3 separate regions of the Homo sapiens genome follow, and all the other regions are linked to region 2. Evidence: promoter capture Hi-C in 16 types of primary human blood cells and fetal thymus (Javierre and others, 2016). All regions are on one chromosome and are shown on one strand. The core of a region is centred on a gene start or on the middle of the fragment in contact, and the rest is flanking DNA. Distances in the headings are between cores, read along the strand shown. Region 1 has its middle 3.6 kb from the start of PTTG1IP. Region 2 holds the start of TSPEAR-AS1 (TSPEAR antisense RNA 1). Region 3 overlaps UBE2G2 (ubiquitin conjugating enzyme E2 G2).

Region 1 (3,611 bases), core at 202-2,701, 370 kb after region 2:
CCCATCTTTGGAAACTCCAGCTGGTTTCCTGTGCAGTGCTTATGGTGCCACCTCTCGTTATATTTAGAAAAATGGTCTCACGTAACTTGAGAAAAAACATTTCAGTGACCAAAGCCGGGTACCATTGGAACACCAAGGTAATTTACTTGTTTGCTCAATTGGAAAACGCTGGCTCTAGGATAAAACGGAATCTTTGGGAGAGTTATTTTTTATGGTAGTTGGAAGCATCCAAAAGAAGTTCTAATAAAGGTATTTATGAGAGAAAAACAAAAATTATCTAAAATAATTTCTGAATTTAAAAAAGACTACTGAAATTTCTCCCCCTCCTCCCTCAGCTCCTTCTCTTTATCCTTTGTTGTCTGAATTACCTCGCCCAGACCCACCTTTCTTCCTCCTCCTCCTCCTGTTTTGGGGCCATTGCTCAAACAGCCAGTGTCTCTCATAGGGGACAACTATGTGCCCTAGTTCATGAGTTATGGTCAAAGGTAGAACTTAAAAGTATAATCAAGGAATTTCCTGATGCTCACCAGGACCCCACTGGTTTTCCCAGAGAATTTAAATACCCGAGTGTGTGACCCTGCCTCTACTTTGGGAAAAATAATTTTTTTTTTTTTGAGACGGAGTCTCGCTCTGTTGCGCAGGCTGGAGTGCAATGGCTCAATCTTGGCTCACTGCAACCTCCGCCTCCCAGGTTCAAGCGACTCCTCTGCCTCAGCCTCCCGAGCAGCTGAGACCACAGGCACGCACCACCACGCCCGGCTAATTTTTGTATTTTTAGTAGAAATGGGGTTTCACCATATTGGCCAGGTTGGTCTTGAACTCCTGACCTTGTGATCCACCTGCCTCAGCCTCCCAAAGTGCTGGGATTACAGGCGTGAGCCACCACGCCTGGCCATAAAAATTATTTAAAATAGTTAACACGAGTTCCCATTGCTGACATAAGCTTTTGCTGATAGAGCAGCCGTGTTTTCTGTAATAAATCCCATCTTGTTACAAGGTTCCATTCCTTGGAGTCAAAAAAAAGTTCAAAGGGTAGGTGTCACTAATACGCCTGTAACGGCACGTAAATCTCAGCCTATAGCTTTTCAACTAGGTCCTTTACAAGGGACTCACATTTTCCTTCTGGTTCTATCAGCTGCCAGCCATCTTATAAAAGGAGACTTCTTAGAATTACAATATCCACGTTTCTTTCTCCCAAAGGGGGAAGACGTATTTAGAATTAGATGAGAAAGCTGAGTTACTAGACATAAAAAAAGTTTCAAAATCTAACCCAATTGCGATCCCTAATTGCCCTAGAAGACACTGAATTATTGAATAATGAAGAATTACAAAACCTACTAAAGGCAGTACTTGATCAAATATGGTCAGAGTCTTCCACTGATACTGGAAGAATCCTCTTGGCTACCCCGATCAAAGTCCTTTAGTGTAGTGGACTTATTAGCACATCCTTCAGTAGTTCTGTGTGTGAAAGTGTTGATTTCTCTTTACCTTTACTTGGGAAGGCAGACAATACACACAGACAGCCATGCTCAGGGCTACACTGAGAGTCCAACTGATGCAAAGACAGTTGTCTTACATACTGACTTGTTCTTTTTTTTTTTTTTTTGACGGAGTTTCGCTCTTGTTGTCCAGGCTGGAGTGCAATGGCGCTACCTCGGCTCACTGCAACCTCTGCCTCCCGGGTTCAAGCAATTCTCCCACCTCAGTCTCCCGAGTAGCTGAGATTACAGGCATGCGCCACCATGCCTGGCTAATTTCGTATTTTTAGTAGAGATGGAGTTTCTCCATGTTGGTCAGGCTGGTCTCAAACTCTGAACCCCAGGTGATCCGCCCACTGCAACCTCCCAGAGTGTTGGAATTACAGGCGCGAGGCACTGGGCCCAGTCTTTTGACTTGTTCTTAAAAAAAATTTTTTATTACAATACATGGGCAGTTTACTCCTTTGCTCAGAAGATAAGCAAAGCTTTTATAGAAGATGGGATACATTCATTACAACAGCCCTAAAGGGACATAAAATTCCTAAAGAAAAACCTCAATTTTATAAAAAACAAAGTACTTGGGCCACTTAATATCTAAAGAAAGACTTTCTACTAATCTAGATAGACTGAAAGGAATTTTAGCTTTCCACCACCAACAACCAAGAAACAAAAGGATGTGGAGGACTGGCAGGATATTATAGAAATTGGATCCCAAACTTTTCTTTAAAGCTCAGTCCTTATACGCTCTCTAAAAACAGGACATGCCAGGACTTTAGAGTGGTCAGAAGAAAATACACCAACATTTGAAATGATCAAACGTGACCTTGCTAATGCTCCGCCTTTGGGGCATACAAATTATAACCTTCCATTCTATTATTTGTATAATACATGAAAGTGGTGGAGATGCTTTAGGGGTTCCTAAAACACTGTTATATGTAAAAATTGTTATTTAGAAACAGAATGCTTGTTCCCAAGTGCTGCAAAGACACAGCACTCGAACATAAATTTAATTCTCTCAGCAAGGCCATTTTTACTTTCTGCAGAAGGGGTGCTCATCACAGATGGAACAATGGCGAGAGCACACCTGAACAAAGGAGGGAAGCCATTTTCATCCCTGCCGCTGTTTGGCCCTGCTACTGTGTCCTGTCTCCATTGGCTGGAGCCAGACCTCACAATCTAAACTAAAACCCGATTGGCTAACAGTTTAAAACTTTTCTAAATAGGTAAAAGTAATGGAAAGACAAAGGAAAAGAGGAAGTTGCTTAATACCAAATAGGGAAGGGGCATAGGCTGCGAGCTGGAATGTGCCTGTGGGCAGGTCCAGCACAAATATCCTGGTTAAGGTTCAAGGACATAGAATGTACTACGTGCCCGTGAGCAAGTGTAACAGCTACACAGGCTAGAGCTTAACGAGCAGTTATTAGCACGAAGCCAGGAGGCTTGAAGGAAGTTAGTTTTTAAAAGAAACTATTATTTTTAACACTTATGATTTACTCTTTAACAAGAAGGGAAACTTTGAAGAGGAACTTTTTGCTTTCTACAAACACAAAGATCGAAACAGACAATCATTGCCACAGTTCCCTAAAATATAATCCAGGAAAACCATTATAAGGACATTTCCCTTTACCCGAGGCCCTTGTGAGTTATGACCATTAGATGCCATGCTGTTGCCACCCTCAGAAACATACAAACATGTTCTGATAACAATTTACTTGTTTTCTCACTGGGCAGAGGCATTTCCATGCAGAAGAGCACTGCCTTAGCAGTGAGTAAAATTGCTGTAGAAAAAGGTATTGCAACCTGGGGAGTTCCTCTGGAACTTGTAGCAATAGAGGAACTCACTTCGCTGGACGGATGATTCAATCAGTATGTAAACTTTGGCCCATCCTCCAGCATTTCCATTGCGCTTACCACACCCAGTCATCTGGGTTAGTGAAATGCACCAATGGAATAATCAAAACTCAGTTGGCAAAATTAACCAAGGCTTTTCAAATTCCTTGGTCAGAAGTTCTTCTACTGGTTCTGCTTAATCAGAGGTCGACCCCTTTAGGTAAACACCAGTTATCTCTGCTAAAAATTAGGCAGACCCATGAAATTATCTCCAAGAAACTGTACGTCTATGATATTAAAGGG
Region 2 (3,692 bases), core at 200-2,699:
GGAAGCAAGTCTCTTGGAGGAGGCCGGCCTCGGTGAGCCCACAGTGGGGAAGCAAGTCTCTTGGAGGAGGCCGGCCTCGGTGAGCCCACAGTGGGGAAGCAAGTCTCTTGGAGGAGGCCGGCCTCGGTGAGCCCACAGTGGGGAAGCAAGGCTCTGGGAGGAGGCCGGCCTCGGCAGCTCATTACCTGTAAATAATACTGTTCACCGAGAAGGTACGCCCATCGAAGGAGTTGGCCACCACCAGGAAATAATCTTCTCCCACCGAGAAAAACTCCCAGTCCAGAGCACTGCAGGAACAAGTGGGTGGATATTAGGACACAACAGACATCGCCAGGGAACTGGGGGATTGGCCAGAAGCTACCTCCAAAATTTATAGAGGAGGAGCCGGGGCCAAAGTGGGGAGTGATTTTCTCACAGTCACATATGTGTTGGTCTATTCCAGGAAAATGTAAATTAGTTGTTTGCTTAAAAAAAATTTCAAATTTTATTTTATTTTATTTTTGAGATGGAGTCTCATTCTGTCACCCAGGCTGGAGTGCAGTGGCGAGATCTCGGCTCACGGCAACCTCTGCCTCTCGGATTCAAGCGATTCTCCTGCCTCAGCCTCCCGAGTAGCTGGGATTACAAGTGTGCGGCACCACGCCCGGCTAATTTTTGTATTTGTAGTACAGACAGGGTTTCACCATGTTGTCCAGGCTGGTCTTGAACTCCTGACCTCAAGTGATCTGCCCACCTCAGCCTCCCAAAGTGCTGGGATTACAGGCATGAGCCACCATGCCTGGCCTCAAATTTTAAATTATGGTAAAATACATATAACATAACATTTCCCACCTCAACCATCTTTAGGTGCACAGATCAGGGGCATTAAGCACATTCATACTGCTGTGTGGCCGCCCCCACCATCCACCTCCAGAACGCCTTCATCCTGCAAAACCGAAGCTCTGCACCCAGTAAACATCACCCCCTCCCCCCTCCCCCCCCCCCCCCCCCCAGCCCCGGCACCCACCACGCCACTTTCTGTCTCTATGAATTTGACCACTCTAGGGACCTCATATGAATGGAATCGCACGGTATTTGTCCTTTGTGTCTGCCTTAGCTGAGACTCCAGTGACTCAAGGTTCATCCGTGTCGCACTGTGTGTCAGAATCGCCTTCCTTTCTAAGGCCGAGTAACGCTCCGCTGTGTGAATGGACACGTTGTGTTTGTCCATCCGCTGACAGACACTTGGGGAATTTCCTCCATGTGGCTACTGTGAATGCTGCTGCTATGAACACCGGGGTACAAAAGTCCACTTTTAAGAGGTTGAAACAATCAGAGAAAAAGTCTCAGGCTGCTGGTGCCTGCTGGAGGCAGGAGCTTGGTTTCCCGCTCTGGACACTGTGCAGAAATGGCGTCACAGTGCTGTGGCCTCTGTGCCTGGTTTCTTCTCTCAGCATTGTGTCTTCAGCTGTGAGGTCAGCGGCCGTGAGGTCACTCCAGGAGGTGCCTACAGGACCTGCAGGACCTGCTCGTTCACAGATGTTCTCCTAGAAGCAGAAGCTGTTTCTTGTTGCAAACAAATTTGCTGTGTCCTGTCTTAGGAGTCTCACCTGAATTTACCAAGGATGCATCTGTGCTTGGGGATGGCTCGGTTTGAGGGGTCTGAGGAGCGGCTCCCCTGGATCCTTTCCTCCCCAGGAGCCCACCTGCCGAGCTGTCAGCGTCAGCCCCACATCTCAAGATGAGGAAATGGAGGTCGAAGCCATGCACACGCAGGCGTCCTGCTGACATGCAGGCCAGGCGGGTGCCTCTGTATTCAGCAGCCTCAGGGCTGTGGCCAGTTCAGGCAGCAGAGGGGCCTCATCCCGGTGCTTCCCTGCAGGCAGTTGTGGGGCCGGCCTGCAGCAGGGGCTCAGACAGGGCCTTGGGAGAGGGAGGGATCACAGAGGTGTCCAGTGACAGGCAGGGCGGGCAGAGCCCATGGGGCCTTGGGCTCCTCACTCCTTCGGTCAGTCAGGGTGACATCTGGAGCCACCTCCATTAATGGTGGGTTATGATTTGGTTCCCATGCAGCCCGTGCCAGCTCGCTGGGAGGAGGACGAGGACGCCTGTGATCACATGCTCTGGTCTGGAGGCACGGCCGCGGGCCCCGGGTCAGTGTGAATCCGCGGGGTTACTCCTCAGTCGGATCTGAGCTCTGAAACCCAGACCCGAGGAAGACAAGCGGCCACGTCGGATGTACCAGTGGTGGAAGATCCTGTCCGGCTGCACCGAGGCTCACATCAGAAGCCGGCTTCGGTTTCACCACAAAATAAGGCATCTAGTGCCCGATTCTGCCTCCAAAGCAGCCCTGGGTCACACTCGCTGTAGGACAGATGTTATTCTTCAGAATCACGCCCTCTGGCAAATGCCCATCATCGGACAAATGGACGGATGAAGTGTGACTCAGCCATGAGAAGGGGGATGCTCTGAGCCGCGCGGCCACACCACCAACCCGGAGGACACGGTGCTGCGAGAAAAAGCCAGGTACAGAGGCCACGGCTCTACGAGTCCATTTCTGTGCAGTGTCCAGAACGGGAAATCACAGAGACAGGAAGTGGGCCCGGGGGTGCCCAGTTGGGAGGGAGGGGCTGGAAAAGGGTGTGGGGGGCTCCTTGTGAGGGGATGAGAATGTTCCAGAGTTGTCTGCAGCCATGGCTGCACATATCTGTGGATTTAATAGAACTACTGAATCTAAAAAGCAAACACAAGCGACCATTTGAAGGCAGTCAGAGCCAAGGTTACACACAGAAGCCACAAAACCCCTCAGCGCCCTTGAATAGGGTTTTGGACTTGGTGAGGCCACATCACGTCTCCGGGAAGTGTAGGGAATTCCCCATGCTGGGTAGAAGGGCTAGGAGTTTGACTTGTGTGTGCTGTTTTGATGGTAATTATTAAACATTACCTTAATTAATTGGTAAGTACTTTCTGTGTTTCATAATTTAGTTCATAAACTGTCCATACCACTGTCCAGTGGTGACAGGGCCATAAGTCGCGAGTGTGTAGCTGTGTTCTGTCAGTTCCCGCAGCTTTCAAATCCCGAGGCGTCTGCCTCATCTGTTTCTAGACTGGGCATCATGTCCATGACTAATTTTTAATCACAATTCATTCTCCAACTTGTCTTATTCTAAATGTTGTTCTAAAAAGCCTAATGTTTGTTTTGTTCTCGGCGTTGACATTGGATGGCGTGGATTCGTGCTGGGGACACACAACTGCCACCGCCGCCCCGTGCCTGTTTCTCCTGCCATGGCTGCCAGGCCACGCAGGGGCCACGGAGCCCACAGGCAGGTCACCCCGGAATCCCCAGTGCCCCCAGCAGACACCGCCGCTGGCTCTTTTTCTTTATTATGAGTGTTCTTTTTTTAATTTTTAAAAATCATATAAGTAAGATATTAGTAAGTTAACATTGTCATCCTTTGTAAAGCCAGGAGTTCAGAAGTAACAGGGCAAATAGGGAAAGTCCTTCCTGGCCTGTCTACATACCCCTGCAGCCCTCCCGGTCCTAGGGTGACTGCTGACGGAGAGGGCACTCCCTTCCCGAGTCTTCTCTGCACGTCCGTGGGCACGCACAGCTGAGCGGCACACAGCAGCCCGGCTCGCTCCTCCGCACTGGGGACACAAGATTTCACTGCACCTCACCCAGCCCTTTCCACAGAGCAGTTCATCTTGGAGAC
Region 3 (3,619 bases), core at 641-3,140, 270 kb after region 2:
AACTTTCAGTACGTGTGTTGAATTGTTTTTAAAGTATTTATTGACTAGTTTTTATGATATTGGTAGACCTATAGTTCTCAAAGATAATTTTTAAAAAATCAAAATAATCCAATTACAGTAAGGCAAAAATTTATATTATCTGAGCATTAAAAATAATTACCAGAACATTAAAAATAATAATCAGACCACCTGTAGTACATAGTCACATAAGGTAATCAGTTTATTGGTCATATTTGTCACTAATGCCATGTCACAGGTATTGTTCTGAATAATATATTTCTCCTCAATACAATCTTAGTATTTTAATTACCTACAATCCTCTTCATAGTTGCATTTTATAGCTAACCAATTTGAAACTACTTCAATTACTCTTACCTATCAATTGTATTTTTTAACTTTTTATTATGGAGAATTCCAAAAACACACTCAAGTAGACAGCGTGTGATGAACCTCCATGTTATCATCTAACTCAGGCGCATGGCCAGTCTCCCTGAAAGAAGGCACGCTTCTGAGCATCCCCTGTGCACACAAGACTGAAGCAGCTTTGAGATAAGAAAAGAAGTACCAAATGGTCTCTCTCAGGCAGCCGCCCACTACCTATGTGTACCAATATCTGCAGTAAATGAGAAGTCCTAAACGAGGGTTAGGACAGCAAGTCTATTGGCAGACGGCATTTCCACCAGTGAAGTGGCCGGGGGTGGGGGGGTAGTCCTGAAAACCCCTATGGCAAAGATGTAAAAGGAAGAATGTAAAAGGAAAAAATAAAAACTACAGCTGTTCAGAAATTCCAATTCCTACTACTGGACACATTTTCAAATAAGCTACAGTACAATTCACTTAAATGACCTTATTTTTTTCCTCCTTTTAAAATTAATATATATTAATTTTAGGGCAAAAAAAGATTTACAAAAAGGAAAAAAAATTTCAATCTGAAAAAAGAATCACTTTTAACATTTTTGTGCTTACTTTTCCAGTTATATATACATTTACATGTGAATTTCTTTTTCAAGAGGAAATTATAACAGTGCTACTGCTTTTCCCAGTCAATATAACACAAATACTACTTTGTATCATTGATTCTTCTTTTAGATCATTTAAAAAATCTACATCACATTCTAACATATATGATATAGTTTGGGTGTGTCCCCACCCAAATCTCATCTTGAATTGTAGCTCCCATAATTCCCACATGTCATGGGAGGGACCCAGTGGGAAGTACTGAATCATGGAGGCACATCTTTCCCGTGCTGTTCTCGTGATAGTGTACAAGTCTCACGAGATCTGATGGTTCCGTAAAGGGCAGTTCCCCTGCACACACTCTCTTGCCTGCCGCCACTAAGATGTGCCTTTGCTTCTCCTTTGCCTTCTGCCATGATTGTGAGGTCTCCCCAGCCATGTGGAACTGTGAGTCCATTAAATCTCTTTCCTTTATAAATTACCCAGACTTGAATATGTCTTTATTAGCAGCGTGACAACAGACTAATACAATATATAACTTAATTTATTCTTGTGTTAAAAACCCAGGTTAAGTCAAAATTTTCACCATTACAAATAACACTATGACAAAGATTAGCATAACCCCTTCTGAGCACACACCCATGTGTAAAACTTCCTCCCCAGTGAAGTAGGGTGGCTGGGTCAAATGGCATCCGGTTTTAGGTGCCTGTTGTCTTTTATCTATATTAAACTGACCTTCAAAATTGAAATCATGTGCTTAATACCACCATGCTTACTTGGCTGAATTTCAAAACATAAGAAGTGTTTTCTAAAGATCTACATCATAGACATATAGAATATACCACATTTCAGGTGGCTGATAATATTATCTCCGTACCTATCCTGGTACCACAAAAACTACTTCCAAAAGCACTTACTGTTGGGATGAAACATCTCACAGGTAAATCTCATCTTTGGGGGACTTAACGGGTAATCAAGTGGGAAACTCAGGATGGCAGGAAAAACACCAAACTCAAAGCAGGTGTCTTCTGGGCCCCTAGAAGATATAAAATACGTAGACTGAACTTCAAAGTACATTTTTCAACGTCGACCACAATTGACAAATGGGTTAAGAACATTTTTACCACTTTAAAAATGCACGTGAGGCCGGGTGCGGTGGCTCACGCCTGTAATCCCAGCACTTTGGAAGGCCGAGACAGGCAGATCATCTGAGGTCAGGAGTTCAAGACCAGCCTGGGCAACATGGTGAAACCCTGTCTCTACTAAAAATACAAAAATTGGCTGGGTGTGGTGGCGCATGACTGTAATCCCAGCTACTTGGGAGGCTGAGGCAGGAGAATCGTCTGAGCCTGGGAGGTGGAGGTTGCAGTGAGCCAAGATCTCGCCACCGCACTCAAGCCTGGGCGACAGAGCGTGACTCCGTCTCAAAAAATAAACAAAAATAAAAATAAATAATAAAAATGCACACAAAAAGATTATCTAAGTAACAATGAATTGGTACTTTCTTTTCAGTGGAAAGCAATGTCCCATTCTCCAGTTTCAATCTGGTCTAAATCTTAGGTACAAGTACAAAGACTGAATTCCAGGCAGTTTTCACATTTATGAAGGTTAAGAGTCAAGCAGCAGAACCTCTTGATAAGAAGGAGATCAGAGAAAAGAACTAATGTCAATGCTCTAAGATCTGGGAGTTTTTTCTGCAGATGTGGTACAATCACATTTTAGGATAAGGGTATGAATTACGGCACAGGGTATAGCAAGATTACATTGTATTTCAACAGATGTGGGGCTAAGAGTTGTATTTCAAAGGTGATTTTTAATTTTTAAACGTGCCCAAGAAGGCATCTTTGCAACCTTCAAGAAGCAGATGAAGAGCACATGTGATCACTGCTGCATGCTCGGTGAAAGGCTAGGCACACAGGCACCACCACTCCAGGCTGCACCTGCAGGCCCATGTGCTGTGCCTCATCCCACTGATGCAACATTGGAGCAACTCCCCGTCATGGGCACAGACACAGGCACTGAGTCTCCCTGGACCTATACTTTCCTCACGTGTAAATGGAAGAAATAGATGAAACCATTTCAGAAATCCTGCTTAAGGTTTAAAACCCAACAAGTATAAATTAACACTATCTTGACCAACAGTTCAAGGCATGATGGCCACAGGAGAGGAAGAGTGTCAGCCACTATGCCTGTACCTTCACACCAGGGACGAACTCCTCTTCTCCTACAAATCACATTAATAAAACACACATTGGAGGAGTTCTAAAAGATCTTGCACCATCTTTCTTTGATAAGGAAGCAGGACTGCTGAATGACAGCGGCAGACAACGAAACAGTGGAAGTTGCACTGGGTGTGACTCATCAGATCAATAAATAGGTCAGTAAACCCGTTCTCCGTCTACGAACTGAAAGAACAAGTCCCTTCCTAAACAGCTCTGCTCCTCTAACAACAAAGGCTAAGGCAGAAAGAACAGTCGTGCAGGGGCCGAGGCCTGGATGAGCAGAGGACAGTCCACACCAGACCTACTGCCTTCAGAAAGAATCCAGGATATGGCACAGGAAAAAAATAATTTAAAAAAATATACGTTTTAAATCTTCAGTTAAAAAATAGATTTCTTAAAAGTAAAAATTTGTTTTAAAAATCTTAAAATTATCTTGGTTC

Evidence for each region. The method cuts DNA at HindIII sites, captures the fragments that hold promoters and counts their contacts. A CHiCAGO score of 5 or more calls a contact.
Region 1: a fragment that was not itself captured here is called in contact with the fragment with the promoter of TSPEAR-AS1 in region 2 in 1 of 17 cell types (naive CD4 T cells); the score reaches 5.4 in naive CD4 T cells.
Region 3: a fragment that was not itself captured here is called in contact with the fragment with the promoter of TSPEAR-AS1 in region 2 in 5 of 17 cell types (total CD8 T cells, naive CD8 T cells, naive CD4 T cells and 2 more); the score reaches 11.2 in total CD8 T cells.

Annotation. Positions count from the first base shown.
Region 1 is chr21:44,875,535-44,879,145 of GRCh38, forward strand. No RefSeq gene overlaps it. Among named protein-coding and RNA genes, the nearest start is that of PTTG1IP, 3.6 kb to the left of the region's middle. The HindIII fragment of the contact is 1,020 bases long and covers 942-1,961 here.
Region 2 is chr21:44,504,595-44,508,286 of GRCh38, forward strand. TSPEAR-AS1 (TSPEAR antisense RNA 1) reads left to right here and starts at 1,450. Exons shown (of 7, transcript NR_103707.1): 1 at 1,450-1,734; 2 at 2,053-2,505; 3 at 3,443-3,692. TSPEAR (thrombospondin type laminin G domain and EAR repeats) reads right to left here. Exons shown (of 12, transcript NM_144991.3): 11 at 186-287. The HindIII fragment of the contact is 6,455 bases long and covers 1-3,692 here.
Region 3 is chr21:44,775,425-44,779,043 of GRCh38, forward strand. UBE2G2 (ubiquitin conjugating enzyme E2 G2) reads right to left here. Exons shown (of 6, transcript NM_003343.6): 4 at 1,875-1,993. Among named protein-coding and RNA genes, the nearest start is that of UBE2G2, 25 kb to the right of the region's middle. The HindIII fragment of the contact is 8,154 bases long and covers 1-3,619 here.